7 separate regions of the Homo sapiens genome follow, and regions 1, 3, 4, 5, 6 and 7 are each linked to region 2. The links are contacts of gene promoters, found by promoter capture Hi-C in blood cells and fetal thymus (Javierre and others, 2016). All regions are on one chromosome and are shown on one strand. The core of a region is centred on a gene start or on the middle of the fragment in contact, and the rest is flanking DNA. Distances in the headings are between cores, read along the strand shown.

Region 1 (3,925 bases), core at 953-3,452, 460 kb after region 2:
CTATGTCAGGTGGCCGCTGAGAGAAGACTTGAAAGGAGATGAGCATAGATGTATGGACGCTCTTTGTTGCACCAGTGTGATAGGTGATGGAGGGACCTATTAGATGGGACATGGGCAGGGGCACTCCTTTATTGCTTAAAATGCAAGACTAAATTGGTGATGCCTTTCTAGAAAGGAAGTATGAAGATACAAAAATCCATCATTCCTCCCAATTTTGTACTGGGTGAACAGTAATTGGAAGCATTCTAGAAGGAACTGTCCATTGTGAAATCTTAGTTGCATACTTTAGATGAAAAACAATGAATTGGAGATACCTCTGTTTTAGTCACAGTTGTGCCATGTGTCAGTTCTATGACTGATGGCAAGACATCTTCCTTGCCCCGTGTATTTAGTTTATCAATGTAATAAGGCTGTTATTCTAACTTTATTATTATATATAGATTCGTAATTATTATTCCCTTGGCCAGTTTAACAGTGAGAAAAAAGTTGTTTTCACACAATTAGCTGTACTTTGTTTCTCTCTCCCCAGTATGTCAGCCACCTCCAGATGTCCTGCATGCTGAGCGTACCCAAAGGGACAAGGACAACTTTTCACCCGGGCAGGAAGTGTTCTACAGCTGTGAGCCCGGCTATGACCTCAGAGGGGCTGCGTCTATGCGCTGCACACCCCAGGGAGACTGGAGCCCTGCAGCCCCCACATGTGAAGGTGACTAGACTCTTATCTGGCTTGATATTTTTAGCTTGCGTCTTTATTCTCCACATGCCAGTGATTTCTGTTCGTTTTTCTTTATCTCCAGTGAAATCCTGTGATGACTTCATGGGCCAACTTCTTAATGGCCGTGTGCTATTTCCAGTAAATCTCCAGCTTGGAGCAAAAGTGGATTTTGTTTGTGATGAAGGGTGAGTATGAGCTTGCCTGACCTGCTGGACATTGAAATTGGGGTTGGGAATCAGTCTAAAAAGGGGAGATTTGGTGTGGCTTAAAAGAAAGACACACACACACACACACACCTTCAGAGAGATGAACTTTCGAAAGTATACCTAGGAAGAAAGGAAAGAAACATATAGAACTAATAACATGAGATATGAAGAGGAAACTGGAACATATATTAACTGGCAAGTTCAAAGGCAAGTATAACTAGTGGTTATGAATATATAGGTAACACATTAAGCAAAAAATATCAGCCAGGCACGGTGGCTCACGTGTGTAATCCCAGCACCTTTGGGAGGTTGAGGCAGGCAGATCACCTGAGGTCAGGAGTTGGAGACCAGCCTGGACAACATGGTGAAACCCTGTCTCTACTAAAAATACAAAAGTTAGCTGGGTTTGGTGGCATGTGCCTGTAATCCCAGCTACTCCGGAGGCTGAGGCACCAGAATCACTTGAACCTGGGAGGTGGAGTTTGCAGTGAGCCGAGATGGCACCATTGCACTCCAGCGTGAACAATGAGTGAAACTCCATCTCAGGAAAAAAATCATATTTTACAAGCAAAAGGGAATATGAGTAATTTAGAGAGTCCCAGGAAAAATTGCAAGTAATGAAAAGCTTATTATTAAAAGCTAGGATCCTTTAAGAATCATTTCAGTAAATTCTTTAAACCATCAACAGTGAAATTTGTAATAGGACTGAAAATGTAAAAATCAGCATTTTTTTAAAAATTCAGTCATATATCTTCTGGCTAGTCATGGGCTCTGGGCTCTGAGCTGGGGTCGTGATGGCTGCTGTTAATATTCCCAGCAAGGTCATTACCTTGTTTATGTCCATCTAGTGCTCTTCACAGCGTGCACATCTCTACACAGGAGCTGACCGGCATGGGCAACAAAGCACCTGATCCCATAATGTAACACAGAATCTTGGCAGCCTCCAAATGCCAGCACCCAGTAAGAGTTAGGAGGGCATCAGGGTCCAAAAGACTGAGAATTTTCGACAATTGCATACAAAAATCATGTCCTCTCTTCTTTCCTTTTTCCCCTAGAATATTCATGCTTACTCTTCAGCAGCCCAAACTGCCCTTTTGAGCCTTCTTCACGCCATCACAGATGTGGAGATGAAAGGACAATCTCTGTTCTCTCGCCAGCTATTTCCCACTTTTCCACTCCAAACTGGGAGCTGTTTTACTTGCTGTTCCAGGGTCAGAGTTAGGAAGGCATTACATTAGAAGACTGGGTTTCTAATAACAACAATGAGTGATTTATCAGGTTATCATGGAGTAATCAGTGAAACTCCAAGCCTGGGTCCTGGGTCAAGGGGATGGCGCCTATGTCATGACCACCTTTTTCAATTCAAGCAGGACTATCATGTGACCAAGCTACTACATTTTGCCATTCTATATTGTTCCCTTCTGGAGGCTGTGATTTTTCCAGAATAAGGTAGCCTGTGCAACTCTGCCATCTGCTGGCCTCAGATCCTCAAAATCCTGAAATTGGGGCTGGGCCTTAGATTGTGAACTAAGTGTCCTCTTGGCTGAAACAGCTCACTATTCACTCCTATTTTCTTCTTTAGATTTCAATTAAAAGGCAGCTCTGCTAGTTATTGTGTCTTGGCTGGAATGGAAAGCCTTTGGAATAGCAGTGTTCCAGTGTGTGAACGTGAGTAATAGGAGCAACATTTCAGGCCAATCTCTCCCCTTCATCTGTTCACTATTTGTCCTATGGCCTCCCTCAATGTGATTCTTCAATATTCTAGTCTTAATTATCGATTTAAAAATAGTTTATTTTAATAATGTTTGGTTGTGAATCAATATGTACATCACCTGTCTTTGCAACCATCTGATCTGTCTCTGTCCTTCTGCATTCTCTGTTCTAGTGCGATAAATCCTTTGGTCTTGTGCTCCTAGGTCAGGAGAGATTAGATAATGTGAAGCTTTAACAATTTTCTTTCTTTCTCTAGTTTTTTCTTTCTTTTTTCTCTTCCTTCCATCCTTCAGTTCTTTCTTCCCTTCTTCTCTCCTTCTCCCCTTTCTTCTTTCCTTCCTCCCTTCTTTCTTTTTCATTTTGTTCTCCCATCAAAGTGCAGTCAGTCTACAATTTATATATATATGATAATACACAAATATTGAACATGGCTTTATTTAATCAATATTTATTGATCACATACTTTGTGCCTGATGTTCATCTAGCCACTGGAGTTATATCAATGAACAAGATGGATGAATTCCCTGTCCCCATGTTGTTTCTACTTAGGTGGGGAGAGGGACAAGAAAAAAAATAAATTCAATGCTATGAGACAATAGAGCAAAGCACTGAGGAATGAGGCAAAAATGGGGAGCAACATTAGACAGGGTGAGCAGTTTGAGACTCCTTAAATTCTCAAAACATGTACCTAAATAATTTATGCTGAGAGATTCATAAATAATAAGTCATTTTTTTAAAATGAGCCTCATATGTTCAATAATCAGTAGACTACTGATTTCTCCTAGTCTACCCATGTATAATTTCCCCAATGGAAGATAGAACTTTGCTTCAATTCTTGATTCTAATGATTGGAAAACGTGTTTCTTTAGAAAATCATGAAATTTTACTAAAATGTTTATGTTGTTAGAAATATACTTGGACATCTTACAGTGATTTTTAGAGTAAAATTTTGGAAGAACATAACTTATATAGAGATTCTTGCTGTCTAAGAAATCCAGTGCTCCTTGAAGCAGTATGACAAGTGTCTGTTCTACTATCATGAATGAAAGCTCATTAACTGGACTACTCAAGCTTTCTCTTATTTTTCATAACTCTTGCTAGTTAAAATAGTTTCTTCCAAATGCCAGTTCTAATGAAAAATGCCAATTAGAAATGAGGAAGAGACTGTTCTAAACAAATCATTAGATGCTAGAAAGGAGTAACAACTTGAAACCTGACCCAGAGAGTAAAAAGAGAAAATAAATCATCAACAGACCTAGACATTTTCAAAAGCAAAGCCATCTGAATCCAT
Region 2 (3,712 bases), core at 1,174-3,673:
TTAGAAGGCATTGCACAGAGGCAGAAAAAATGGGATATGTTTAGGAACTTGCACATAGCCTGGACTGGCCTAGATGAAGCATGGAAATTGGTGAGAGAGAAGGTGGCTGGAAAGATAAGTCAAAGCCAGTTTATGGAGGCTTTTGAATGACGTGCTAGAGAATATACACTTGTTTTTGGTAGGCAGAGAATATACATTTGTTTTTTGGCAGTCAGACCATGAAGACATGGAAGCCTTGCAAACAATGAAGTAATAAGGACAGAACATAAAGAAAGATTTCTCTCACAATGTTGGTTGTAGTATTGGTTGATGAGGGAAAAGAACTAAGAGAAACCAACGAAAGGACTCCTACAATAGTCCATATGGGAGGCATTATCAACCTGAACTGGTTTGGTGGCAGCAGAAATGAAAAAGCAGCAGCAGACACGAGAGATATTGAAAACTTGTATCAAAACAACCTGTCAACTAATCAAACATTGAAGGGTGAGGGAGAGGAAGAGTTCAAAAGTGAATCTGAAATTTTATTCCCGAGAACCAGAGGTCAGAAAAAGCTGGGGTCAGAAAGTGAAGCTTGTTGGCCGGAAATGAGAAATTCCTCTTTGGATGTGCTGAGGGTGAAGTGCTTGCAAGATGTCCAGTGGGGGGAAAAAAAAAACAAAACCTAAGAAAGTAAGTCTTGAGTTTCGGAGAGTAATCAGAAATAATAATGTAGTGCTGGCTAGTCTTCTTACTGGTAATAGTTAAAGCTGTGACAGAAGGCAAGATCATTAAAATTGCGAAGATAATTTTTTTAAAAAAAGAAGAGCCTGAGATATATCTATATTTAGGAATGAGAAGGAGGAAGAGAAGGTAACAGTAACTAAGAAAGAGAAATTAGTTAAGTTAAGGGAATCAGGTAAGTTTAGTGTCATGGAAGCCAAAGGAGAAGAGAGTTTCAGAAAGGAAATGATCAGCAGTGACAAAGGCTGCAGACAGATCCTAAGAAATGAATTAAAGATATTTTGGACTTGGACCTAAGGGCGTGCCTCAGAGAGACATGTCAGTAGAAGAGTGGTAGAAGCCAGATGGGAAAGCAACAGGTGGAGTGATGAATGAGAAAGAACAGGCAGGTAGAACAAGTCACACCTTTGAGAAGTTCAGCATCACACTAAAGAAGAAAGGTGGAATTTGAGGTATTGGCAAAATTGAAGGGACATTTCAGGATGAGAGATGCATTGAAAATGAGGCAGGAAAAGAAGAAACAATTCTCCTCGGAATGAGGAGTGAATAGGAGGGAAAATTTGACATTGATGAAGCTAAGGTAGAATGATTTTTAGTAAAGTAGGAGGTAAGAGCATCTGCTGAGAGGGAATGTGACAATTTGGTGACCTGGAGAGAAAAATCTGCAAGAGTCACTGTGGAAAGTAAACGAAAGGACTTCAATACATTGGAAAACGGTACTTTAAAGAAATAGCAGCTTTAAAGGTGATATTTCTTCCAATTTAGTCTCAAGACTGTGCAATCTGGAATCCTCCTCTATCTTCATTCTGGTCAAATCAGTGTCTCACCTTGGTGACCTAGCGCATGGTTTCTTTACATCTAATATCCTTACCACTTTTATCTAATAATTTCTACCTTTTATCCAAATCTCACATCTTCTGTAGAAACTTCCTTGATTAACTCAACCTGTTGTAGTTTAGTTCCTTTTCTGAAACTCTTCTGGGACTTTCAGTATTTATTACAGAAAAAGTGAAGTTCTCAGAAAGAATTGCCTTTTAATAGCAATCTTCTGAGCACACAAATCTTAACCTTGAGGATTAGTAGCTTAATTGGACTATGTAAGTGCTTGTGGTCTTTTTAGATCTATGCGAGAGGAAACATGGCCGGTCCTTCATTGCGTTCTTCTGAGCGCACTGGATAGATCAATTTTTGGAGGCCCTCTGGTGCCTGACATGTAGTAGCAGTTAACATTTGCTGAACTCCAAATACGTTCTAGATAACTCAGCACATAGTGGAAACCCAATGCATGTTTGATAAATTCCCCACCTTTTGTAATTCCTTGGGGTGGGATAGAGACGAGCTCTGGGCAAGAATATCAGTTTTCAAACTCCAGGAAAGCATACTGGACCTAGTGTCATGGAAAGTGGATCATTTTTGCGGAGGCTCTCTGAACCTCGCAGTATCCAAGGTTTCCAGGCTAGCTGGACTGTGTCTTGCCATAACCCTTATGTGTTTATGAAAAGAAAAAAGAATTCTGGCTTCAAATTCAAATTACCTTTCCACTTAGGGGAAATGGTTGGCAGAGGAGAAAATAAACGATTGCGACATGTTACGAAGAATGAGGACTAGCAAAGAGGAAGGAGCTTAGGTAAACAGTGCTGCTTTATTTCTGCTGTTAATCATTCATTGGGCCCGTCAAAAGTTTCTGCCCATCTATTTCCATCAACCGTCCTTGACCAGCCAACCACATGGCTGAAATTCAGGGACTCTTTGGTGGAGCAATTACCAGTCAACTTCAGGGTATTATGATAAACTCTGATCTGGGGAGGAACCAGGACTACATAGATCAAGGCAGTTTTCTTCTTTGAGAAACTATCCCAGATATCATCATAGAGTCTTCTGCTCTTCCTCAACTACCAAAGGTCGGTGGACTACTAAACCCTTGGGGAAGCTTGGAGGAAAGGCTGGTGGTTTGGCCCTTTAAGGAGTGCAGGATTAGAAGGATAAAACAGAGACAAAAGCTTGGAGGTGTTTTCAGCAGAAATCTTTTCAGGAGCACTGTATTAGGGGGATGTAAGACTTGAGACGTACTTTAAACCCTATCTGAACCTCAAGTTTTAAAAATTATAAATGGAGGAATAATATTGCATTCTAATAAAATAAGCTAAAGAAGAAGAGGTGTAAGGTGTTGCTCTTGTTACTGTATCTAAAAGACAGATGTGTTGGTTTGTTGATCTTTCACCACCTTCCCACATCAGAGTTGAGGCAAGGGGTCAATCAGACTTTTCAAAGGGTTCACAGGAAGCTTGCTTTTCTTAGTCTACATTCTGAAAACTGGGGCCATTTCTATTTTGAGATTTGATTAACCACTCCAAATCTCCTCCACCACTGACAGCAAAGATGTTTAGATTTGGTAATAAGGAGGACACTGGCCAGCCTCCAGTTGGTTTCTGAAGCTAGCAGTCTTAGTCGTCCTCATCTTCTTTACTTTCTGAATTTGACGATGCTGATAACCCTTCCTTCTTGAAATTCTCTTCTTCCTTGGTTGGCCAGGATACAGTACCATTCTGGTCCTCATTTTAATTCTTCAACCACTTGTCTCTTTGCTGATTCCTATTCTATCTCTAAATATGGTAACACCAAAAGAATAAAAAGTAGACTACAGAAGAGGCAGAAGCATCAAAGAAGGTTGGCATTAAGCTTAGAGATATGTTTGAATGTAGTATGAGCACAGAATAAAGGGGCTGATAGAAAAATAAAGAGATTTGGCCAGGTACGGTGGCTCACTCCTGTAATCCCAGCACTTTGGGAGGCCGAGGCTGGCGGATCACCTGAGGTCGGGAGTTCGAGACCAGCCTGACCAACATGGAGAACCCCTGTCTCTACTAAAATTACAAAATTAGCCAGGCATGGTGGCACATGTCTGTAATCCCAGCTACTTGGGAGGCTGAGGCAGGAGGATCATTTGAACCAGGGAGGCAGAGGTTGGGGTGAGCTGAGATCGTGCCATTGC
Region 3 (3,832 bases), core at 135-2,634, 320 kb after region 2:
CAGAAGATATGGGAAGTATGGATAAAGAGGTATTTTGAACAAAAAATAGATGGATCTCAAAGATGGATTAGATATTGGAGAATGAAAAGCATGAGATATCATGGATGAACCTGAGATTTGTAAATTAGGTGACTGGATGCATGATGGTACTATTCAATGAGATTAGAAACATTGGCAGGAACCAATAACTTTGGAGGGAGTGTAAGAATTAAAGAAAGAGGAAAGATACATGAAAGGTGGCTTGACAGTTAAGGACGGGTTTATTTTAGAGAAAACAAACATGAGAGGGGCTTCTGGCTGAGTTAGGTTAGAGCCTACTTTCTTAGAGACTAAGAGTTTTTAAGGATTCAGGGTGGAAGAGTTTATCAGAGGCTTGTACTCCTTCTGTGTTTCTTTGTTGCACTTATCTGGGAGGGAGAGCTTTGTGTCTGTTCCCATACATCTTCCTGCAGCTGCAGGCATACCCACCCTCCTCCCAAGTCTGCTTTTAGCTTCCCTTAGTGCACTTAAATGGAAAGGAATGTGCTTATTAAGGCCCACTGTTTTACTGGGGCCCATTGTATGAGGGTGAAGTTTGGCAGTTACCCAAGAGACTTCCCCACCACCTCCCTCTGTGCCCCAGCTGTCTTATCTGTATTTTACTGTCTGCTCTTTCTGGGCACTTGTTGTTAGAAGAAAAGTGATTTCCTTGAAATGCATGAGGCTAGAAAAAGAGCTGGAACTTAAAGTGGCAGTGTTTGTCCAAGATGATGGTGCTCCTGCTCTGTCAGGGAGGACTGAGTTTGGTGTTTGACATATTGATACTGAAGTATCCACATGGAGAGGCAAAATAAGGTATACAGGGTCTTAGGCTTAGAAGACAGGTGTGAGCTCAATTTAGAATTTTTCAAGTCATAGACGTAATAGATACATTTGCCTGTGGAGATATAATAGAATGTGAAAAGAGCCCAGGATTCAGCCTCGAGAAACTCCAACATTTAATCACCAGACAGAGGAGGATAAACTGGAAAAAAAGATATATATGTATATAGAGAGGAAGAATGACCAGAGAGCTAAGCAGATAACCAGCAGATAATGATATCTGGGGAAGACAGCAGAACAAATTGTTTCAAGAAGAAAACAGTGGTTAATGTCAAATTCCACCAAGAACTGAAAAATGTTCATTGGCTTTGGCAATATGAAGGTGATCGTTAGTCATAATGAGAGAGACAGAGGCTAAATCAAAGTAGGTTGAACATTAGTAAAAGGTGTTGAAAAGGACAGGCCATCTGTAACTCTTTCAAGACATTAAGAAATTTGGCTGAGGCTGGGCACAGTTGCTCACACCTGTAATCCCAGCACTTTGGGAGGCTGAGGTGGGGAGATCACGAGGTCAGGAGATTGAGACCATCTTGGCCAACATGGTGAAACCCCATCTCTACTAAAATACAAAAAAATTAGCCGGGTGTGGTGGTGCGTGCCTGTAATCTCAGCTACTTGGGAGGCTGAGGCAGGGGAATCACTTGAATCCAGGAGGTGGAGGTTTCAGTGAACTGAGATCAAGCCACTGCACTCCAGCCTGGGTGACAGAGCAAGACTCCGTCTCAAAAAGTTAAAAAAGAAAAAGAAAGAAAGAAAGAAAGAAAGAAAGAAAGAAAGAAAGAAAGAAAGAAAGAAAGAAAGAAAGAGAGAAAGAAGGAAAGAAAGAAAGAAAAAGAAATTTAGCTCTGAAAGTGAGGAGAAAGGGTTAGAAGTTGGGGGAAGAAAGTCTTTTGAGATTTTTTTTAGCTCTTTTAAATGTCACGGGGAATGATCCAATGTTAGAACACAGTTGAAAATACAGGCAAGAGTGGAATTGTTTGATAGTTAAATGTTTCTGAAAAATCAGGAAAGAGTAGAATCCAAGACCTCATGTGAAAGAACTGACCTTCAATAAGAGAAGAGAGAAAATGGAAAAAAGAAAAGATGAATGCAGATGGAGGTTCCTAGAGTTGCTAGCAGGAAATTGGGAGACTAGATCTCCGACGGCTTCTCAGTGAAGAAGGAGGTGAGAAGACAGGCAGAAAAGGGTCAGTTATGGTTGGAAGGGTGAGGAGTATAAAGAAGATACAAAGTAATCATTGATAAAGTGAATTAAAAAGAGGAAAACAATGGTAAGGTTGCCACACAAGGTTGAGTCTATTTGAAATTAGTTATCCTGAATTTATCCACCAGTGCAACCTGCCATGTGGCTCTATCTCAGTGCTTAGGTAAGGAAAGCAGAAAGTAACAATGATTGAGGTTTGGGATTTTCTAAACAGTTGCCATAAGGAAGCAGGCAAAGGAGTTTGTTACTGGCAGGAGTGCTGTTGAACTTGTGGTATAGACTTTTGACTGATTAAGGAAGGAACTGAAGAAAGAGTGGGCAAATAGATTAGAATAAGGGGAAAGGCGACAGAAAGTTCTCATGAAGTCAAACGAAGGTCAAGCAGTTTGACACTGAAATAGGTAAGCTGAATGCAGTGGAGATTGTATGTAGACAGCAGGATGTCTGAATTAGAGATTTTGGAAGTGGTGCCATATTAGGACATGACAAAGTCTAGGGTGTTACCAAGGGGGTATTTTGTTGGAAGTATCTGCTTGAAATCATGTTAAATTTAAACCTCACTCTCCAAAGTCAGTATAATTACACTTATAATTTTTAATCCTGGCATTGGCGTTTATACTGTCAAAAATAAATAAATCCAATAGGGATAAGTTTGCATATTCTGTCTCTAAATCCATTCCCACAAATTGCATTTACATGTCTTCAACTGATAGCAACTGTAACAATTTATATTTAGGCTTGCAGACTTCCTCTTGATGACATTCAAATTTTTTACCCATTTATCAGAATTTCCTAAAACTGTGGTTCACAACCTTCGTTGGTTATCAGAATCACCTGGGGAACTTTTAAATTCATAAATTCTCAGCCTGTTCTGATTCAGTGAACAGTGAACCTGATTCAGTAGTTCCCAGGTGGGGCATGAGAATCTGTACATTTAAAAAAAAAGCTTCCCAGGTGATTCTGACAATTGGTCAGGGATGACAAGCATTGCCCTCAGAGATGAGTAAGTATTCCTCAGTTGACCTGCCACTGACTTCTCAATTCCTCAATACAAATTTCTGGAGCTACACATCCCAAAGGAACCAGCTTGAATGCTGGAAGAAGGAACCACAAACTATAAACTAATGGAGCTAAAATTTACCTTTTTAGGGCTAATTTATGGGTTTTGAATACTTTTAAAATATTAAGACAATTCTGTTATGTTACCACCTGGTTTTTTTTTAAAAGGGGCTACCTATTTCATGATTTCTCTTTTATAAGAGTAACACTTAGATGATAATTTTATTGCAAGACTATTATATTATAATTGTGTGATATACTTTACTGTAAAAATAGTATAATTATTTGTGATGTCAATTGCCAAGTTTTCTTATCTATGCTCCCATATCTGAGTTTTGGAAATTGAAAAAAAGAGAGAGAACTTGGGAAGCTATTGTAGAAGCCTAGGTTAGAGGTGATGATGGTGAAAACTACAAAAATAGCAGAATGGACCCAAAAAAGAGAAAAAAGTTGAAAGAGGTTTATAAGATAGAATAGACAAAGTTGGGATTAGGAATAATATCTTCACATTTCTGTAGGAGTTTGAAAACTAACTTTCTATTAATCATATCTTTAAGTGCCACAAAGTAGAAGTCTTTTTAATTTTGGTTTAAAGACAATATATTTAGTCTTATTTCAAGTTATATGATTATTCCTAATATTAGCTTATATTTTAACCAAAAAATAATCAGAGACTTAAAACCAACTTTCAAATTTGCAGTTGTAACA
Region 4 (3,621 bases), core at 1,068-3,567, 340 kb after region 2:
TCTTGCGTTTTAAAAATGCTTCTGCAAGTTCTTACTTTAGGCTGGGCATGATGGCATGAGTTTGAGGCCAGTCTGAACAACATAGCAAGATCCCATTTCTAAAAAAATTAATTTAATTAAAAAAATAAAATTTTACTTTGTAAAATTGTAAAATTTCACTTGGTAAACTTGTATGTATATTTCAATTAACTACCAATTATCTGTATATCTTGGCAGTGTCTTTTCTCAATCTTCAGTGAAAAAGTTTTTAAAAACTTGATTGCTGATAAATTAGGGAAGGGAAAGTAATTTATTTTTAATAAAATACTATTCTAAATGTTTCAGATTTAGTTTTGTGTCATCACTAAATTATATTAAGTTACATCACTAAAGTAAATTAGTTTATTAAAGTTCTTTTTAAACTGAAGTCTCGGTAAAGAAGATCAACTATAGGACTTCTCCACATGTCAGGGAGAAGTAGAAATAAAGATGATGAGACATGACCAATCCTGTGTCTTCTTGAAGCCAAAGATATTTGTTTAAATGAAGATTTGGATAAACTCCAAGGTAAACAAAAGGGCTATTAAGAAAAGGTAGGGAATTCTGGAAGGAGTGTGAAAGGACACCCTCTTCCACTACTTACTGGCCCCTCACTGTTCTTCAGTATCACGGCCACCTCTGGAGGCAGACATAGGATGACCCGATGACAGCAATCCATCTCTGTTCCCAAAGGGTATTCTGCATCCCTTAAAACTGTGAGGGGTCAAGCCTTTGTTTCAGTACCTCATAAACACAAAATCTGAAATAAGTAAAATACAGTAAAATATGATATGCAAATCCATGAGTTTTGCAGGAAGACAGGTCCAAATGGCAGGAAAATCTCTTTCTGCTTTGACTGGAAGGAATGAAAACAGAAATGGTGATGAAATGCCTGCAAAGCATTAGGCAGTTTGGAAAGTCCCTGCAAATGTCCCTGTCCCCCATCCTCCAGACCACCCCACACCATTATCACGACTAGCAACATGACCAGGTCACACAGATGTTTGACCATTTTTGTGGACTGCTCATTGATTAGCATTATGTGACAGAAGTATTCCGAGGCAGCTTACTGCTTACTGTAGAAGGTGCTGGTTTTCAGCGAAGATAGTCAAGTGGTTTGGAAGGGGAAAGAATTATCTTAGCCGGAATCTAGACACTGATTCTACTCATTCTGATACTACATTAATTCTGCTTTGCAAAGGGGAAAGAATATTCCTTCTTATTTGACTCCTAAATGAACTTCTTTCACTATTTTGAGGGCCCAACATCCCACACACCCCAGGCCAGTGCGGAAACCCCCTAAAGGAAGCAGTTCCTCTTCTTTTTGGATAACTGGCCAGATTTTTTTCCAGGAAATCTCTAGGATTCATTTTGTTTTTTTACATATGACTTTTATGTTGTATTCAAGATACCCAAACTCTAAGTAATGTAAGTTTATTAGATTGCAAAACATTGCAACTGTTTTAAAACTCCATATTAGTGTCATGACAGGAAACCATAACTGATTTTTAAAATACTTGAATTGGGAAAAATTAAGTCTCATGGAGAGTGATTCTCTTCTCTTGCAGCCACCTGCATGGTCTCTACCATGCCCCTACACTTGCTATGTGTTCTTGGCAATACCCCAGGAGGTTCAGACAATAGCTCATCAACACTGAGAACCACAACTTGCAGATGTGGTAGCCCCATTTACACAATGGCAATTGCTTTGTGCTGGAGCAAGGATCTCATCCACAACCTATGGTCTAAGGGTAACTTGTGCATAAATAGAATTCTGCTGTAAGGCAGGAGGACTAGAGATGGTTTAGAATGGCTTGATATCAATCTCCTTTATAATTCAGCAGAAGCTAGGAAGTTCCAAAGCTGATCATGGAAACAGATACTATCTTAGGATAAATCATAGATTGGGAAACATTTTGCTAAGGACTTCTGGTTGGTGCATTCTGGTTGCTGTTGACAGCAAACATACCCTCTCTTCTTGATCTATCTGCAGTAATGGCCCCTTATACCTTTCTAATATTCATCATTACTTTTATTTTTGTCCCTCTGTTTATTCTTGATCATTCTCACTGGTCATTTGACAAATTAATTAGATTTTTTAAGAACCCAACTTGGCTCCTGTTTTTGATGTCACTGATTTTTTGTTTTAATTTTACTATCTCCTTTCTTCGGATTTTTTTTTCTGACCTCTTAAGACAATATATCTAATATCTCTTTCTAAAACCCGCATTAGCTGTATCCCATAAATTTTAATGTTTTTTTCTCCTATGGCTCAGTTTGAAAAACACACTAATATATGTTCGTTTCTATTATGATTTTTTTCTGCCCTATGTATAAGTTAGACATGTCTATCTTAATTTTCAAACATACAGTTTTTAAAAAGTATTTATTGATTATTAATTTCTAGCTCAATGGCGTAGAGATCAGAGAACATATTCCACATGATTTCAATCTTTGAAGTTTTTCGAGACTTGCCCTATGATCTAGCTTGCAATCAATTTTTGTACATTAGCTTTCTGTATCTGAAAAAGGATGTCTTCTGCATTTATCAGGCGCAGTGTTCTATAAGTTCCCTATGCCTTGCAAGTTAATCATGTATAAATTTTCAATTTATTTGCTAATTTTATCAACTTATTCTATCAATTATCAACAGATAAAATGTATCTGTGAATTTAAATTTGCATTGTAAATTTGTCTGTTTCTTCTTGTAGTTCTGTTGAATTTGTCTTAAATGTTTTGAAGATACACTATTATATGTAGAAAAACTTAAAATTATTATATCATCTAAGTGAACTGTTCTTAAATTTTCTTTTGTCAACAATTGATATAATTACATATATCTTTTACTACTGTTTACATAACATATCTTTTTCCATTACTGATTTTCAAGTTTTCTTTATCTTTAGGGTTTTTTAAATACAGTTTTATTAAACCATAATTCATATACCATGCAATTCATCCATTTAAAGTATGCAATTCAATGACTTTTAGTATATTTACAAATACATTTAGTCATTACTAGAGTCCATTTTAGAACATTTTCATCACCTGAAGAATACTCTTTTAGTGTCATCCTCTATCCACTCCCTATTATCCATCCTCCCTTTATACTCCCCTCCGCTGCTAAGCAATCACTGATCTATTTCCTGTCTCTATAGATTTTCCTGTTGCAGACTTTCACGTGAATGGAATCATATAATGTGTGGACTTTTGTTATTGGCTTCCTCCAGTTAGCATAATGTTTTCATGCCTCATCCAAGTTGTAACATATCAGTACATCATTCCATCTTATGGTTTTTTCCGTTATGTGGATGTACACACTTTGTTTATCCATCAATCCGTTGATTGACATTTGAGTCATCTCTACCTTTTGACTGTTATGAATAATGCTGCTATGAACATTCATGTACAAGTTTTTGTGTGAACATATGCTTTCATTTCTATTGGGTATTTACCTAGGAGAGGAATTGCTGGGTTTAATCATTTGAGAAACTACCAGATTGCTTTCCAAAGTACCTGCACCATTTGATATTCCTGCCAGCAGTGTACAAGGGTTCCAGTTTCACTACATCCTCATCAGCACTTTTTATTATCTGATTGTTT
Region 5 (3,971 bases), core at 208-2,707, 490 kb after region 2:
TGGGAGTTGAACAATGAGAACACATGGACACACCGAGGGGAACATCACACAGTGGGGCCCGTCAGAGGGTAGGAGTCCAGGGGAGGGATAGCATTAGGAGAAATAGCCAATGTAGATGATGGGTTGATGGTGCAGCAAACCACCATGACATGTGTATACCTATGTAACAAACCTGCACGTCCTGCACATGTATCCCAGAATTTAAAGTATGATAATAAAAAAAAGACTGTGTACTCATTTTTGGTTGCCATGATAAATTCAGAGAGGAAAAACATGATATATATTAAATTTTACTGCAACAACTAACTGCCCCTTGTCATCAGCCTATTCTGTCACTAGAGTGAGTCAGTATTCCTCTTTTCTGACTGTCTGAGCCTGGACGATTTAAACTGCTTTTCACACAACCTCTTGCCCAACCTTTTCTCACCTCCCATTGTGAATGAACATAGATTTCCCTATGGTAAACAAAACAAAATATCACCAAATCTAAGGCAAGATAAAGAAATTGAAGATAAAAGAAACCAACCCAAGAGATCAGAGAAATATTCATCTGCACAACAGCTTCCTCCAATAAACAGGGGACAATCTTTAAAAATCTCTCATATGTGTTTGTAACATAGAATCGATGGAACTATATGAGGCATTTATAAGATTTAATGATCTGATATCAGAAAAGTTGAGATTTGAATGAAACACATGGGAGTCGGAAAAGGAGTGATGACTGGTAGATTGGAGCCTGCCCCCAACCCCCGGAAAAAAAAAAAAAAAACACCAAAGGGATAATGAAGACAAGATTGAATTCTCCAGAATTCATCAAGGACCAGACTTGAAATGACACATATATACACACAAACACACTACACACAAACACACAGGGATATAATATAGAAATTCCAGAAAAAATAAAAGAAAGCAGAATGAATAGAAGCATTAATTAGCACATAATGGAAGACAATTTCTCAGGCTATAAAGAAAAATACTAAGTTGATCCTTGAAGGCTTACTAGACAAATCAAGATTAACAACAATGGGCCCCGGCCCTACATGGAAGAAAATTATGCCATCCAAATATAAAAAAATACTGCCACTCTCCAGAAATAACAAAAAAGAAGAAATTCATCTTAGCACCAAGCTTCCGTTCTGTAACACTAAGTAGTAGAAGTTAGTGTTTGAGAGGAAATATTGTACAATAAAATTTCTGTACTCGGCCAAGCTGCCATTCATCTGCAAGGCACAGATGCATCGTCTTAAATAAGAAGGAACCCCAAACATACACCAGTTAGATATACTGCCTACAAAAAGAAAAACTCCCACAAAGCTGTGGGAGTTTTTCTTTTTGAAGAAGAAATCAAAATTCCAAATGGTGTTGTATCAAAGAAATATTAATGAGGCACAAAACTAGTTAAATGGGGTCACTAAAACTGTTTTATTTAATATGGAAATAAAATATCAAAGCAGGACTAATTCTTGAAAGATAATTCATGTAATATGAAAAGAAGAAGAAACTTGATATAAAAAATAGATTTTATCACTTCAGCTAGGAAGTTAGAGATGAAGTAAGAAAAACCATCATAAACTTATCATATGTAGGGGACACATATTCTTGACATAAAAAATAAGGAGAAAATGGTACTTCACACCAGTATAAAATCTATATATCTATATCTATATATATCTATATCTATATCTATATATATATATATAATCAAATTTTAAAAGATAATCAGAAGGGCGAAACCACTTGGTCCATAAAACAAAAGAGGGGTGAGAGAAACAAGAGCTAGCAAGCTTTCTGTCTCTCTTTTGGGAAACTAGCATTATTACGTTAAAGTGAATTAATACATGTATTTTAATGCCTCAGTTTTTCTTTCTAATATAATAAATATTAACAGATATAAACTCCATTGGTAAAATCACTTTGAGGTCCTTAATACTTCTTAAAGTGGCCGGGCGCTGTGGCTCATGCCTGTAATCCCAGCACTTTGGGAGGCTGAGGCGGGCAGAACACCTGAGGTCGGGAGTTCAAGACCAGCCTGGCCAACATGGAGAAACCCTGTCTCTACTAAAAAATACAAAATTAGCCAGGTGTGGTGGCGCATGCCTGTAATCCCAGCTACTCGGGAGGCTGAGGCAGGAGAATCACTTGAACCCGGGAGGCGGAGGTTGCAGTGAGCCGAGATGGTGCCACTGCACCCCAGCCTGGGCAACAAGAGCGAAACTCTGTCTCAAAAAATAATAATAATAATAATAACAATAACAATAACAAAAATGTTTAAGAGTGAAAAGAATTCTTGAGACCAAAAAAGTTTAAGAACTAGGGCTTGATGATGTTCAAGCAAAGATAGGAAAAGGCTATTGCAAGTACGGTACAAAGCACAGGGGGAAGGTTTCATAAGTATATATATAATATATATATAATATAACATAAAATTCATATATATTATAAAAATAATAAATATGATATAAATTTGATATAAAATATTATATAAATCTGATTTTTAACATATTTTGATTTTATACTGGTGTAAAGTACTATTTTCTCTTTATTTTTTACATCAAGAATATGTATCCCCTACATAGTATAAGTTTATCATAGTTTTTCTTACTTCATTCCTAACTTCCTAGTTGTAGTGATAAAATCTATTATTTTATATCAATAAAAATATTGATATAAATTTTATTTACATGATATACAATATTTAAATATAACATATTTTATATTACAAAATATACTACTATGTATTACAAAAAAAAAAACAAACTCCATTTAGCAGAGCAAGAATGGAGTTTGTTTTGTACAGTGCTGAGTTCCAACCCATAGAATTGTTAAATAAATAAAAAGGAAAGAACACTATAAGATCAAACTCATCAGTTATAATAGTAAATGTGAATGATTCCAATCCCCCCTTTTGAAAGACAAAGGCTTCTAAATATGGTCAGAATCCTATTTACAGTAGCACCAAAAAGAATAAAATACTTAGGAATCAATTTAATCAAGGAGGCACAAGACCTGTGCACTGAAAACTCAGTAACTGAAAATGAGCAAATGATGTGATAGACATGTCTCCAAGGGAAATATACAAATGCCCAATAAACACATCAAAAGATGTTCAACATCATTAGTCATTAGGGAAGTGCAAGTCAACCTGACTTTGTACTAGGATGTTTTGTATTAGGATGGTTATAATATTTTTAAAAAATAGGAAATAAAAGGTGTTGGCGAGGATGTGGAGAAATTAGAACGCTTATACATTGCTGGTGGAAATGTAAAATGGTGTAGCACTGTGGAAAACAGTTTGATGATTCCTGAAAAAGTTAAACATAGAATTACCATATAACCAGCAATTCTGCTCCTAGGCATATACCTAAAGAAATTGAAAACAAGGACTGAAGCAGATGCTCAAATACCAATGTCCGTAGCAGCTTTGTTCAAAATAGCCAAAAGGTAGAAACAACCCAAGTATCTACGAGCAGATGAATGGATAAATGAAATGGAGCTTATCCATTCCATGGAATATTCTTCAGCTATACAAAGGAATAGAGTTCTGATACATGCTACAAGATGCATAAACTTTAAAAACATTATGCTAAGTGAAATGAGCCAGACACAAAAGGATAAATACTGTATTCCACTTTTATGAGGTGCCAAAAATAAGAAAATTTATTGGACTAAAAATAGATTAGAGATAACCAGTGGAAGGAGAGAATAGGGAGTTACAACTCAATACATCCAGTTTCTCATTGGGATGGTGAAAATTTTTGGAACTAAGCAGTGATAATGGTTGTATAATGTTGTGAATGTCATTGATGCCACTGAATTATACCCTTAAAATGGTTTTAATGGCAAATTTTATGTTGTATCTCTTTTAAAACAATAAGAAAGAAAAAAATTTTTAAATATATCATGTGATATTAGGAAAGAAAAAAACAGATAACAGTATAAGAAAAATAAGAATTTAAAACATATCAAAT
Region 6 (4,194 bases), core at 341-2,840, 420 kb after region 2:
AGACTCCAGCCCAGCTGCAATGGGGGAAGAGGATTTACCGACAGAAAAAGGAAACTGACGTACAGAAAACAGAAGTGAGGTACAGAAACAGCCGATTGGTTATAGCTCAGCGTTTGCCTTATTTGAAAACAGTTCAAACAGTTGGCCACATTTGATTGGCCAAAACTCGGTGATTGGCGTAAGAGTAGTCTGCGGTCTGTTTACATCTTCACTTGTTATAGTTTGCAGTTTACAGAGAAACCTTTAGGCTGAGCTTAAACTACGTAAGGCTTTAGGCTAAACTTGATTTAACGATTTACATATATTCTATATTTCAAAGACACTGTTGTCTTTATAAAAACAGTATTTATTTATATTTACACCTTAGTGAATTCTTAGAATTTTTATGTTGCCTCAGCATCCATTTAGAATATGTTTAGCTTTCTCATGCCAGAAGCAGGGCTTAGTCACCCTTAATGCCCTTTCTAGTTCTGTACCTCCTCCCAATTTTGCAACGTGGTCGAGCCAGATATCTGCCTTATACAACTGCCTCCTGGTGACCACCTCTCTATGGGACAGCTAGATAAAACCTACTTGACTAGCGTCCCTGACCTCTGTGCCCTGCATGGACTTCGCAGATATGCTGCCGTGACCACCTCTCAGTCGCAGCACGACTGCCTGGAACATGTGCCTGCTTTCTTTAAACTCACCAATTAGAACTCCCCATGGGAGATACCTTGGCTTGTAGATGCAAGATGCTGGGTCATACTCTGGTCCCCAATAAAGGCATTGGCTGATGGGTCCCCTTCTCTCTGTCTGTCTCCTCGCGCTGACCAACCTCTGTGTGATCTTCAGGCGTGCCATACCCCCAGCCCGTAATAAAATCTTTACTGCCATCTTGTGTTTCTTGTAATGACTGAAGAGGTTTTCTCTATCATAAAGATCCTAAATGAAAACATACCCGCATATGAGCTCTTTCTGGTGTGTTTCCTTCTTATTGCAATTCTGTCAATTCTATATGAAACTATTTTCCTTCAGCCTGAAAAAGTCTCTTTGGCATTTTTGTATTGTAGAGCTTCTGACAACAAATTCTTTAAACATTTTTCTAAGTGTGGTTCCTCTGAAGGTTATTGTCCATGTTTCCTGGCTGCTTTTAAAATGGATTACACTTTAAAACAGATTTTTTACAATATTATTGTGTTGTGTCTAGGTAAGAATTTCTTTGTATTGCTTGGGTTTGCACATTTTTTTTTTTTTGGTTGTTTTTTTTTTTTTTTTTTTTTTTTTGACAGAATTTCACTCTTATCACCTGGGCTGGAGTGCAGTGGTGGGATATCTCGGCTCACTGCAACCTCCGCCTCCGGGGTTCAAGTTATCCTCCCACTTCAGCCTTCCAAGTAGCTGCAATTACAGGCCTGTGCCTCCATGCCTGGCTAATTTTTACCCTTTTAGTAGAGATGGGTTTTCACCATGTTGACCAGGCTGGTCTCAAACTCCTGACAAGAGGTGATCTGCCCACCTCGGCCTCCCAAACTGCTGGGATTACAGGCATGAGCCACCGTGCCAGGCCTGTATAGCCTTTTGAACCTGTAATTTAATGATGTCTTGCATCAGTCTTGGAAAATTCTCAGTTATTAATTCTTCAAATGTTGTTTATGCTCAGTTCTCTCTCTCTTCTCATCGAGGGACTTCAGTTAAACATGCTAGGCTTTATTCTTCTATGTATTTAGTCTGTATTTTTTAATCTTTTTATATATTGGTGCTTGGTTTTGAGTATTTTCTTCTGTCCTAGCTTCCGGTTCATTGATTTTCTTTCAGAGTCTAACCTGCTATTAATCTCACACAAATTCTTAATTTCAGCAATCATATTTTACTTTTACAATTCTAGACTTTTTATTTTCCAAATCTGCCCTCTTCCTTTTTTTTTTTTTTTTTTTTTTTTTTGAGACAGGGTCTCACTTTGTTGCCCAGGTTGGAGCACAGTAGCATAATCATAGCTCACTGCAGCCTCAACCTTCACAGGCTCAAGCAATTCTCCCACCTCAGCCACCTGAGTAGCTGGGAATGCAGGTGTGCACCACCACACCTACACATCTGGATAATATATATATATATATATATGTATATATACTTTTTTTTTTTTGTCGAGACAGGGTTTCGCCATGTTGCCCAGGCTGGTCTCAAACTCCTGAGCTCAAACGATCCACTCTCCTCAGCCTCCCATAGCGTTAGAATTACAGGCGTGAGCCACCACATCCCACCCTGTTCTTTTTAATAGTTTCTAGTTCTTACAAGTTTCAATTATACCCTTGAACAGGTCTGTAGTTCTAATGGGTCAGTTTCTGTCATCAGTAATTGTGTGTGTTATTTTATCTCTCCAAATATCTGGTTATCTTTGATTGTGTATCAGGAATTCTATTTGAAAACTGTGTCTGTAGAAATAATTTCAAGGCCTTAGATAACCCATCTTCTTCCAGATGGAATTTTTGTCATTGTTTCTGCAGGCATCTGGGGACATTAGCAATCTAGGACCACTCTAATTCAGTCTCAGGAACTGTGATTTTCCAGGGCCACCCACAGTACCAGTACTTGAAGTACTAGTTCCAGTCTCTGAGACAGCAAATTTATTTTCAGTTAACCCTGATTACCAGGGCCTAGTTCTTGTGGCCTCAGAACACATCAGAAGGTATTACCAGGCCTTCCATTTGGGGCAGGCCCTGGACTTCCATTGTTGTCCCTTAACTTCATGAGAAAATCAAAAGTCTGTTCAGCCTCTCAGTTGCCCCGTCCTGATTCAGCTGCCCATTCCCAAACAATAAGCAGCCCAGTTGCCAAGCCCAAATACCCAGCTCTCAACTGGATTCTCATCTTCTCCTAGATCATGGCCCAGGAATGCTTCACTAGTTTGTTAGCTTTCTGATGCTTTAACAGATAAATATTTTTAATTCTCCAGTATTTCTAGCCTTTCTTGAGGGTGGATGGTTGGAGCAATATTTTATTTGAACTGTTGAGATTACTATTAGTAGAAGCAGAGCCTGAAAAATTTTTATTTTTAATTTTAATTCATTCATTTCTAAATTTATCCAATTAAATTCACTCAGTTTTAATTTCAAGTGTTTTGGGATTTGGGTTGAAGAAATTTTGTTCTAGTTTATAGCAACACAGTATACTATGTACTACTGCTATACTTTAAAATGTATTTAGGGGTTTTTGTGGACTAATATATGATCACTTTTACACAGATATCATCTTATGATATCAAACTTAGATTTGATGAAATGAGTTGGTAAGCTTCATATCTTTTATATGTTGTGAAACCTTGAAATTACATTTGGAAGTATATTTTTGAATGAATTTTGGTAATTTGTATTTCCATTTATATCATTTAGATTTTCAAAATATTTAACCCCCTGTAGTCTACAGTTTTATAAATATTCTCATATACATAAAAATATGTTTAAATTCTTTTTCCTACTGTGTATATTTGTGTTTTCTCTCATCCCTTATACTTTATCTTTTAGCAAATGTTTTTGTATTTTATTTTTCTAAAAAAGCTAACCTTGGTTAATAACAAAAATGGAAATTAAGAAAGCAAACGGAAAAGAGTAGGAGAAAACTGTATAAATACTATAACACTATGATCAAAGAGCTATTTAAAATGAAAAGAATGTGGATTGAGTTAATACATGCATGCAAATACTATAGGAAATCATATCAGTAAGAAAGGCAGGACACATCATATTATGCCCATTGAAGCTACAACTTTATAAAAATGTACCTATGTGTTAGCAAAGATTAAAAGCAAATAATGAATGTAAAAATAGCTATAGTTTAGTGACTCATGAGATTTCTGTCATTCATTATTTAAACTGACTGTTATTTATCCTGCTCTTCCTTTTTCCAGGAATTCCTTGTGGGCTACCCCCCACCATCACCAATGGAGATTTCATTAGCACCAACAGAGAGAATTTTCACTATGGATCAGTGGTGACCTACCGCTGCAATCCTGGAAGCGGAGGGAGAAAGGTGTTTGAGCTTGTGGGTGAGCCCTCCATATACTGCACCAGCAATGACGATCAAGTGGGCATCTGGAGCGGCCCCGCCCCTCAGTGCATTATACCTAACAAATGCACGCCTCCAAATGTGGAAAATGGAATATTGGTATCTGACAACAGAAGCTTATTTTCCTTAAATGAAGTTGTGGAGTTTAGGTGT
Region 7 (3,741 bases), core at 1,161-3,660, 360 kb after region 2:
AGTTTTGTAAATGTAAGAATTTCTGTGAGTAAACATAAGCAGGCCTGTCAGCAAGTCCAGTCAGGTTGAGATTTAATATAAAACACAAAAAGTCTCCAAAAAGTCTCCTGAATCCCAGCCTCAAATTCTGTTTGGGTTGATTTGGTTTTCTTTTGTAGATAAATCATGTGTGAGTCATAGAGAACTCCTTTAGGACTCTGTGATTACACACATGGGTATTGCATTTGGGTTGACAATGACATATTCTTGTAATAAAGGGTGAGTTGGCAGGAGACAGTTCCTGGGTACATGGATACCAGAACAGCAGTTCCAACCAGAAACCATCACTCTTCCAAAAGAGATCTGAGTAATTGCCACATACTTTTTAAAATAAATAAGCAAAAAGGAATCACCTCCCTGATCCACTCCAGAGACACTGCTTCAAGATTACCAGCTAGAGAGGATCCCTAGAAGAGAAGGAAGTTTTGGCTGCTCTCTTCCAGTTTTAAGTCTCCAGTGCTACTGACCAGGAGCTTGAATTTCATTTGGCTTTAAATTGTATGAGTCCTTAATCTGTCACCCCTGCTTGTCATAAATGATATTCTATTCTCTGCTATTCTTTCAGTAGAGAAAGAACTAAGTTTTTCTAAAATGTAAGTCTAGCTGGGAGATGATCACTCTTTATTTTTATTTTTATTTTAAGTTCTGGGGTACATGTGCAGGATGTGCAGTTTTGTTACAGGGTAAACGTGTGCCGCGAGATTTCTTATCTCTTTGTCTTTAGATATCTACTCTTTGGTGACTCATCTGCTACATGTATTATCTCAGACAATATTGTAACCTGGGATAATGACATGCCTTTTAATGAATGTAAGTAAAACAATCTCTTTATTGCACCCTATTTAATTCCTCTTGTCCCCTTCCAGAGGGAAATTGAGCATCTGCACACCAAAGTGAGTAGCCAGGAGGGTTTACACTTGGTTTGAGTAGCTCTAGGCACACAGCTATGACTTACCCATCTTCCTCATGGCCCCCAATCCTACCACACGTTCCTTTGTTTACTGTCCTTTGATTATAAGTTATTTCATAGTGAGTAAATGCTTACATCTAAAACATTCCAGGAGATTACACACTGCCAACTTTATTCCATGCAAAAAGTAAGCCACCCTAGGTCCCTTCTATAACAATTTATCTGTGGTCTGGGGCGGGGACTGGTGACCAGCTCATAGCTTTTCGGTTTTTATCAGCCAGTTCCATATATCTTTTGACCTTGCTACTTCCTATTTAGAATCATCTTTGAGATCAGGATACAGAATTTCAACAAAATAGGTAAATTGTAGGCTGAGTTGCAGTTTGGATTGCAAGAATGAAGAGAAAATTCTCAGAAAGTATAATATTCTCTCTTTCCCCACCTACTCCTTAAAAAGGTATTCCTTGTAAGTCACTCCCAGCCATCCCCCATGGGACTTTGACAGCAGCAGCAGGGAGAGGGGTTTGCTATGAAATCATCAGTGCCATATTGGATGTAATAGGGAAAAGCTGTTTGACCTCTTGGATGAGAAGTCAATGCATTGCACCAGCAAAGATAATCAAGTTGATGTCTGGAGCTCTGGAGCAACCCTCCTCTTCAGTGTATTACTCTTACTTGAATGCTCAATTATAGAAGTTGAAAATGGAGTTGTGGAATCTGGATTATGTTCATTTTTTTAAAATGATACATGATATTTAAGTGTAAGCTTGGTTTTACCCTGAAAGGCAGCAATGTAATATGGTGTCAACTAAACAGCAAACAGAATCCTCTACTGCCAAAGTGCTTCAGGGGTGAGTTGGGCTGAAACTTCAGGATCTAGAAATAAAACAAGGTTTTTCTGGGAAATAGATATATGGTACCTATGGAAAGAGCAGAAGGAAGATAGTATATGTGGTTGAGTTTTCTAGTTAAAGAGTTTTTTATTGTTATTGTTTGTTTTGTGTTTCTGTTTTTGTTTTTTTGAGATGGAGTCTCGCTCAGTCGCCCAGGCTGGAGTGCAATGGCGTGATCTTGGCTCACTGCAACCTCCACCTCCTGGGTTCAAGCGATTCTCCTGTCTCAGCCTCCCGAGTAGCTGGGATTACAGGCATCCAACATCATGCCTGGCTAATTTTTGTATTTTTGTAGAGATGGGGTTTCACCATGTTGACCAGGCTGGTCTTGAACTCCTGACCTCAGGTGATCCACCTGCCTCAGCCTCCCAAAGTGCTGGGATTACAGACGTGAACCACCACACCCTGCCTAGTTAAAGAGTTTAAAAGTAAACTTTGAAAGTAATATCTAAATGTTGCAGATGTAGGACTTTTTCTTCTTTTGTATTTTGGGGCAGTGCTAGATCTGTGTTATTGTAGGGGAAATTAAAAGATGCTTTTTTAAAAAAGCAGATAGCACCAAAGTCAATGATTAGAGATTTTTTCATACATATATATATATATAATTATCACATCTTATCCATAGGTGTGCTTTGAACATATATATGCCACTCTTCTCTGTCTTCTGGAATGCAGACCAAAGATGTTAAATTGATTCAGTTGAGTATATATTATACTGCAGATTCTATATGTATAAAGACAACAGTTCTCGAAAGTTACCCTTACTGAAACCAAGTATAGCACTGATGTGATGAAACAGTTTGGCTGTATCTTCTTATGTCAGTTTTCACTGAAGACCTCCTCTTGGAGCCAAAGGGAAGTTAACTGAAAGTTCTAGAGGTTGGCAATTTTCCCTTTATTCTGAGACTCCCTCAGAAAAGGCGTGCATAACAAAGTAAATGTAAACAATATCCTTCATGGTTATTAGGACAAGTAAATGAAGAATATGAGGCCATTATTCAAAACCTCTGTTCACTTCCTGTGGCTTTTTCAAAGTGTTCCAGCCTCAAGTCAGGACAAATCACCTGTACTGAGGCTCTAGCATCTTCAGCAGCAGGACCAAAAGTGGTCATCTCAGCCTGTACCCCCAGTTGTGTGTTTGAAGCAGCCATTGAATAATTAGTATGTTCCAGGTATTGTACTTTCTCTGTTCATGTACTTTTAGCACTGGATTCTCACTATACCTTATGAAGTAGTTTGCGTTATACTATAGACTAAGAAACTGAAGCTTAAAGAGAGTAAGACTTGCCTGAGGTCACACAGCTATTGAATGACCGTGGGGAGTTGAAACTAGGTCCACTGAGCTCAAATTTCCCTAATCCATGGTACCTCCCCACATGTAACTATCATGCCACTAATATGTTATTTTCATGTGCTGAATTTGCCTTTTGTTTCATTATTAAAATTGATTAGACTCAGAACTTTTGGATATATTCTTTTCATTATTATTGTTTGGTCAAGATGATTTATGTTGATCTGTTTGCTGAGGATCAAGAAAAAGGTAAGAATTTAGGAGTTTGGGAGTAAGCAGGGAATAAATAAACTATACATATTTCTAAGTCTGTTTCTGAAAAAGTTATGTGATCTATATTTGGATATTTTACCTACATTTGAATATTTTCTCACCATGATCAGTATGCCTACCAAGTTCCTTTTCTACTTTTCAGGGATTTCTTGTGGCTCTCCTCCGCCTATCCTAAATGGCCGGATTAGTTATTATTCTACCCCCATTGCTGTTGGTACCGTGATAAGGTACAGTTGTTCAGGTACCTTCCGCCTCATTGGAGAAAAAAGTCTATTATGCATAACTAAAGACAAAGTGGATGGAACCTGGGATAAACCTGCTCCTAAATGTGAATA

The links. Contacts are between HindIII fragments. The CHiCAGO score rates a contact against its expected background, and 5 or more counts as called.
Region 1: a contact is called between a fragment that was not itself captured here and the fragment with the promoter of C4BPA in region 2, in 12 of 17 cell types (erythroblasts, megakaryocytes, M2 macrophages and 9 more). The highest score is 14.0, in erythroblasts.
Region 3: a fragment that was not itself captured here is called in contact with the fragment with the promoter of C4BPA in region 2 in 14 of 17 cell types (naive CD8 T cells, endothelial precursors, neutrophils and 11 more); the score reaches 14.3 in naive CD8 T cells.
Region 4: a fragment that was not itself captured here is called in contact with the fragment with the promoter of C4BPA in region 2 in 16 of 17 cell types (erythroblasts, naive CD4 T cells, neutrophils and 13 more); the score reaches 10.9 in erythroblasts.
Region 5: a contact is called between a fragment that was not itself captured here and the fragment with the promoter of C4BPA in region 2, in 1 of 17 cell types (erythroblasts). The highest score is 5.3, in erythroblasts.
Region 6: a contact is called between a fragment that was not itself captured here and the fragment with the promoter of C4BPA in region 2, in 14 of 17 cell types (naive B cells, naive CD4 T cells, M2 macrophages and 11 more). The highest score is 9.9, in naive B cells.
Region 7: a contact is called between a fragment that was not itself captured here and the fragment with the promoter of C4BPA in region 2, in 16 of 17 cell types (naive B cells, endothelial precursors, total B cells and 13 more). The highest score is 17.1, in naive B cells.

What each region holds. Positions count from the first base shown.
Region 1 is chr1:207,563,335-207,567,259 of GRCh38, forward strand. It overlaps CR1 (complement C3b/C4b receptor 1 (Knops blood group)), which reads left to right. Exons shown (of 47, transcript NM_000651.6): 22 at 530-706; 23 at 798-900; 24 at 2,504-2,589. Among named protein-coding and RNA genes, the nearest start is that of CR1, 69 kb to the left of the region's middle. The HindIII fragment of the contact is 1,317 bases long and covers 1,545-2,861 here.
Region 2 is chr1:207,101,810-207,105,521 of GRCh38, forward strand. C4BPA (complement component 4 binding protein alpha) reads left to right here and starts at 2,424. Exons shown (of 12, transcript NM_000715.4): 1 at 2,424-2,621. The HindIII fragment of the contact is 2,080 bases long and covers 569-2,648 here.
Region 3 is chr1:207,427,796-207,431,627 of GRCh38, forward strand. No RefSeq gene overlaps it. Among named protein-coding and RNA genes, the nearest start is that of CR2, 25 kb to the right of the region's middle. The HindIII fragment of the contact is 3,250 bases long and covers 1-3,009 here.
Region 4 is chr1:207,443,731-207,447,351 of GRCh38, forward strand. No RefSeq gene overlaps it. Among named protein-coding and RNA genes, the nearest start is that of CR2, 8.8 kb to the right of the region's middle. The HindIII fragment of the contact is 7,026 bases long and covers 1-3,621 here.
Region 5 is chr1:207,594,389-207,598,359 of GRCh38, forward strand. All of the region lies in intron 35 of CR1 (complement C3b/C4b receptor 1 (Knops blood group)), which reads left to right. Among named protein-coding and RNA genes, the nearest start is that of CR1L, 49 kb to the right of the region's middle. The HindIII fragment of the contact is 656 bases long and covers 1,130-1,785 here.
Region 6 is chr1:207,519,728-207,523,921 of GRCh38, forward strand. CR1 (complement C3b/C4b receptor 1 (Knops blood group)) reads left to right here. Exons shown (of 47, transcript NM_000651.6): 5 at 3,884-4,194. Among named protein-coding and RNA genes, the nearest start is that of CR1, 26 kb to the left of the region's middle. The HindIII fragment of the contact is 3,356 bases long and covers 1-3,268 here.
Region 7 is chr1:207,462,978-207,466,718 of GRCh38, forward strand. It overlaps CR2 (complement C3d receptor 2), which reads left to right. Exons shown (of 20, transcript NM_001006658.3): 2 at 3,549-3,741. Among named protein-coding and RNA genes, the nearest start is that of CR2, 11 kb to the left of the region's middle. The HindIII fragment of the contact is 1,394 bases long and covers 1,714-3,107 here.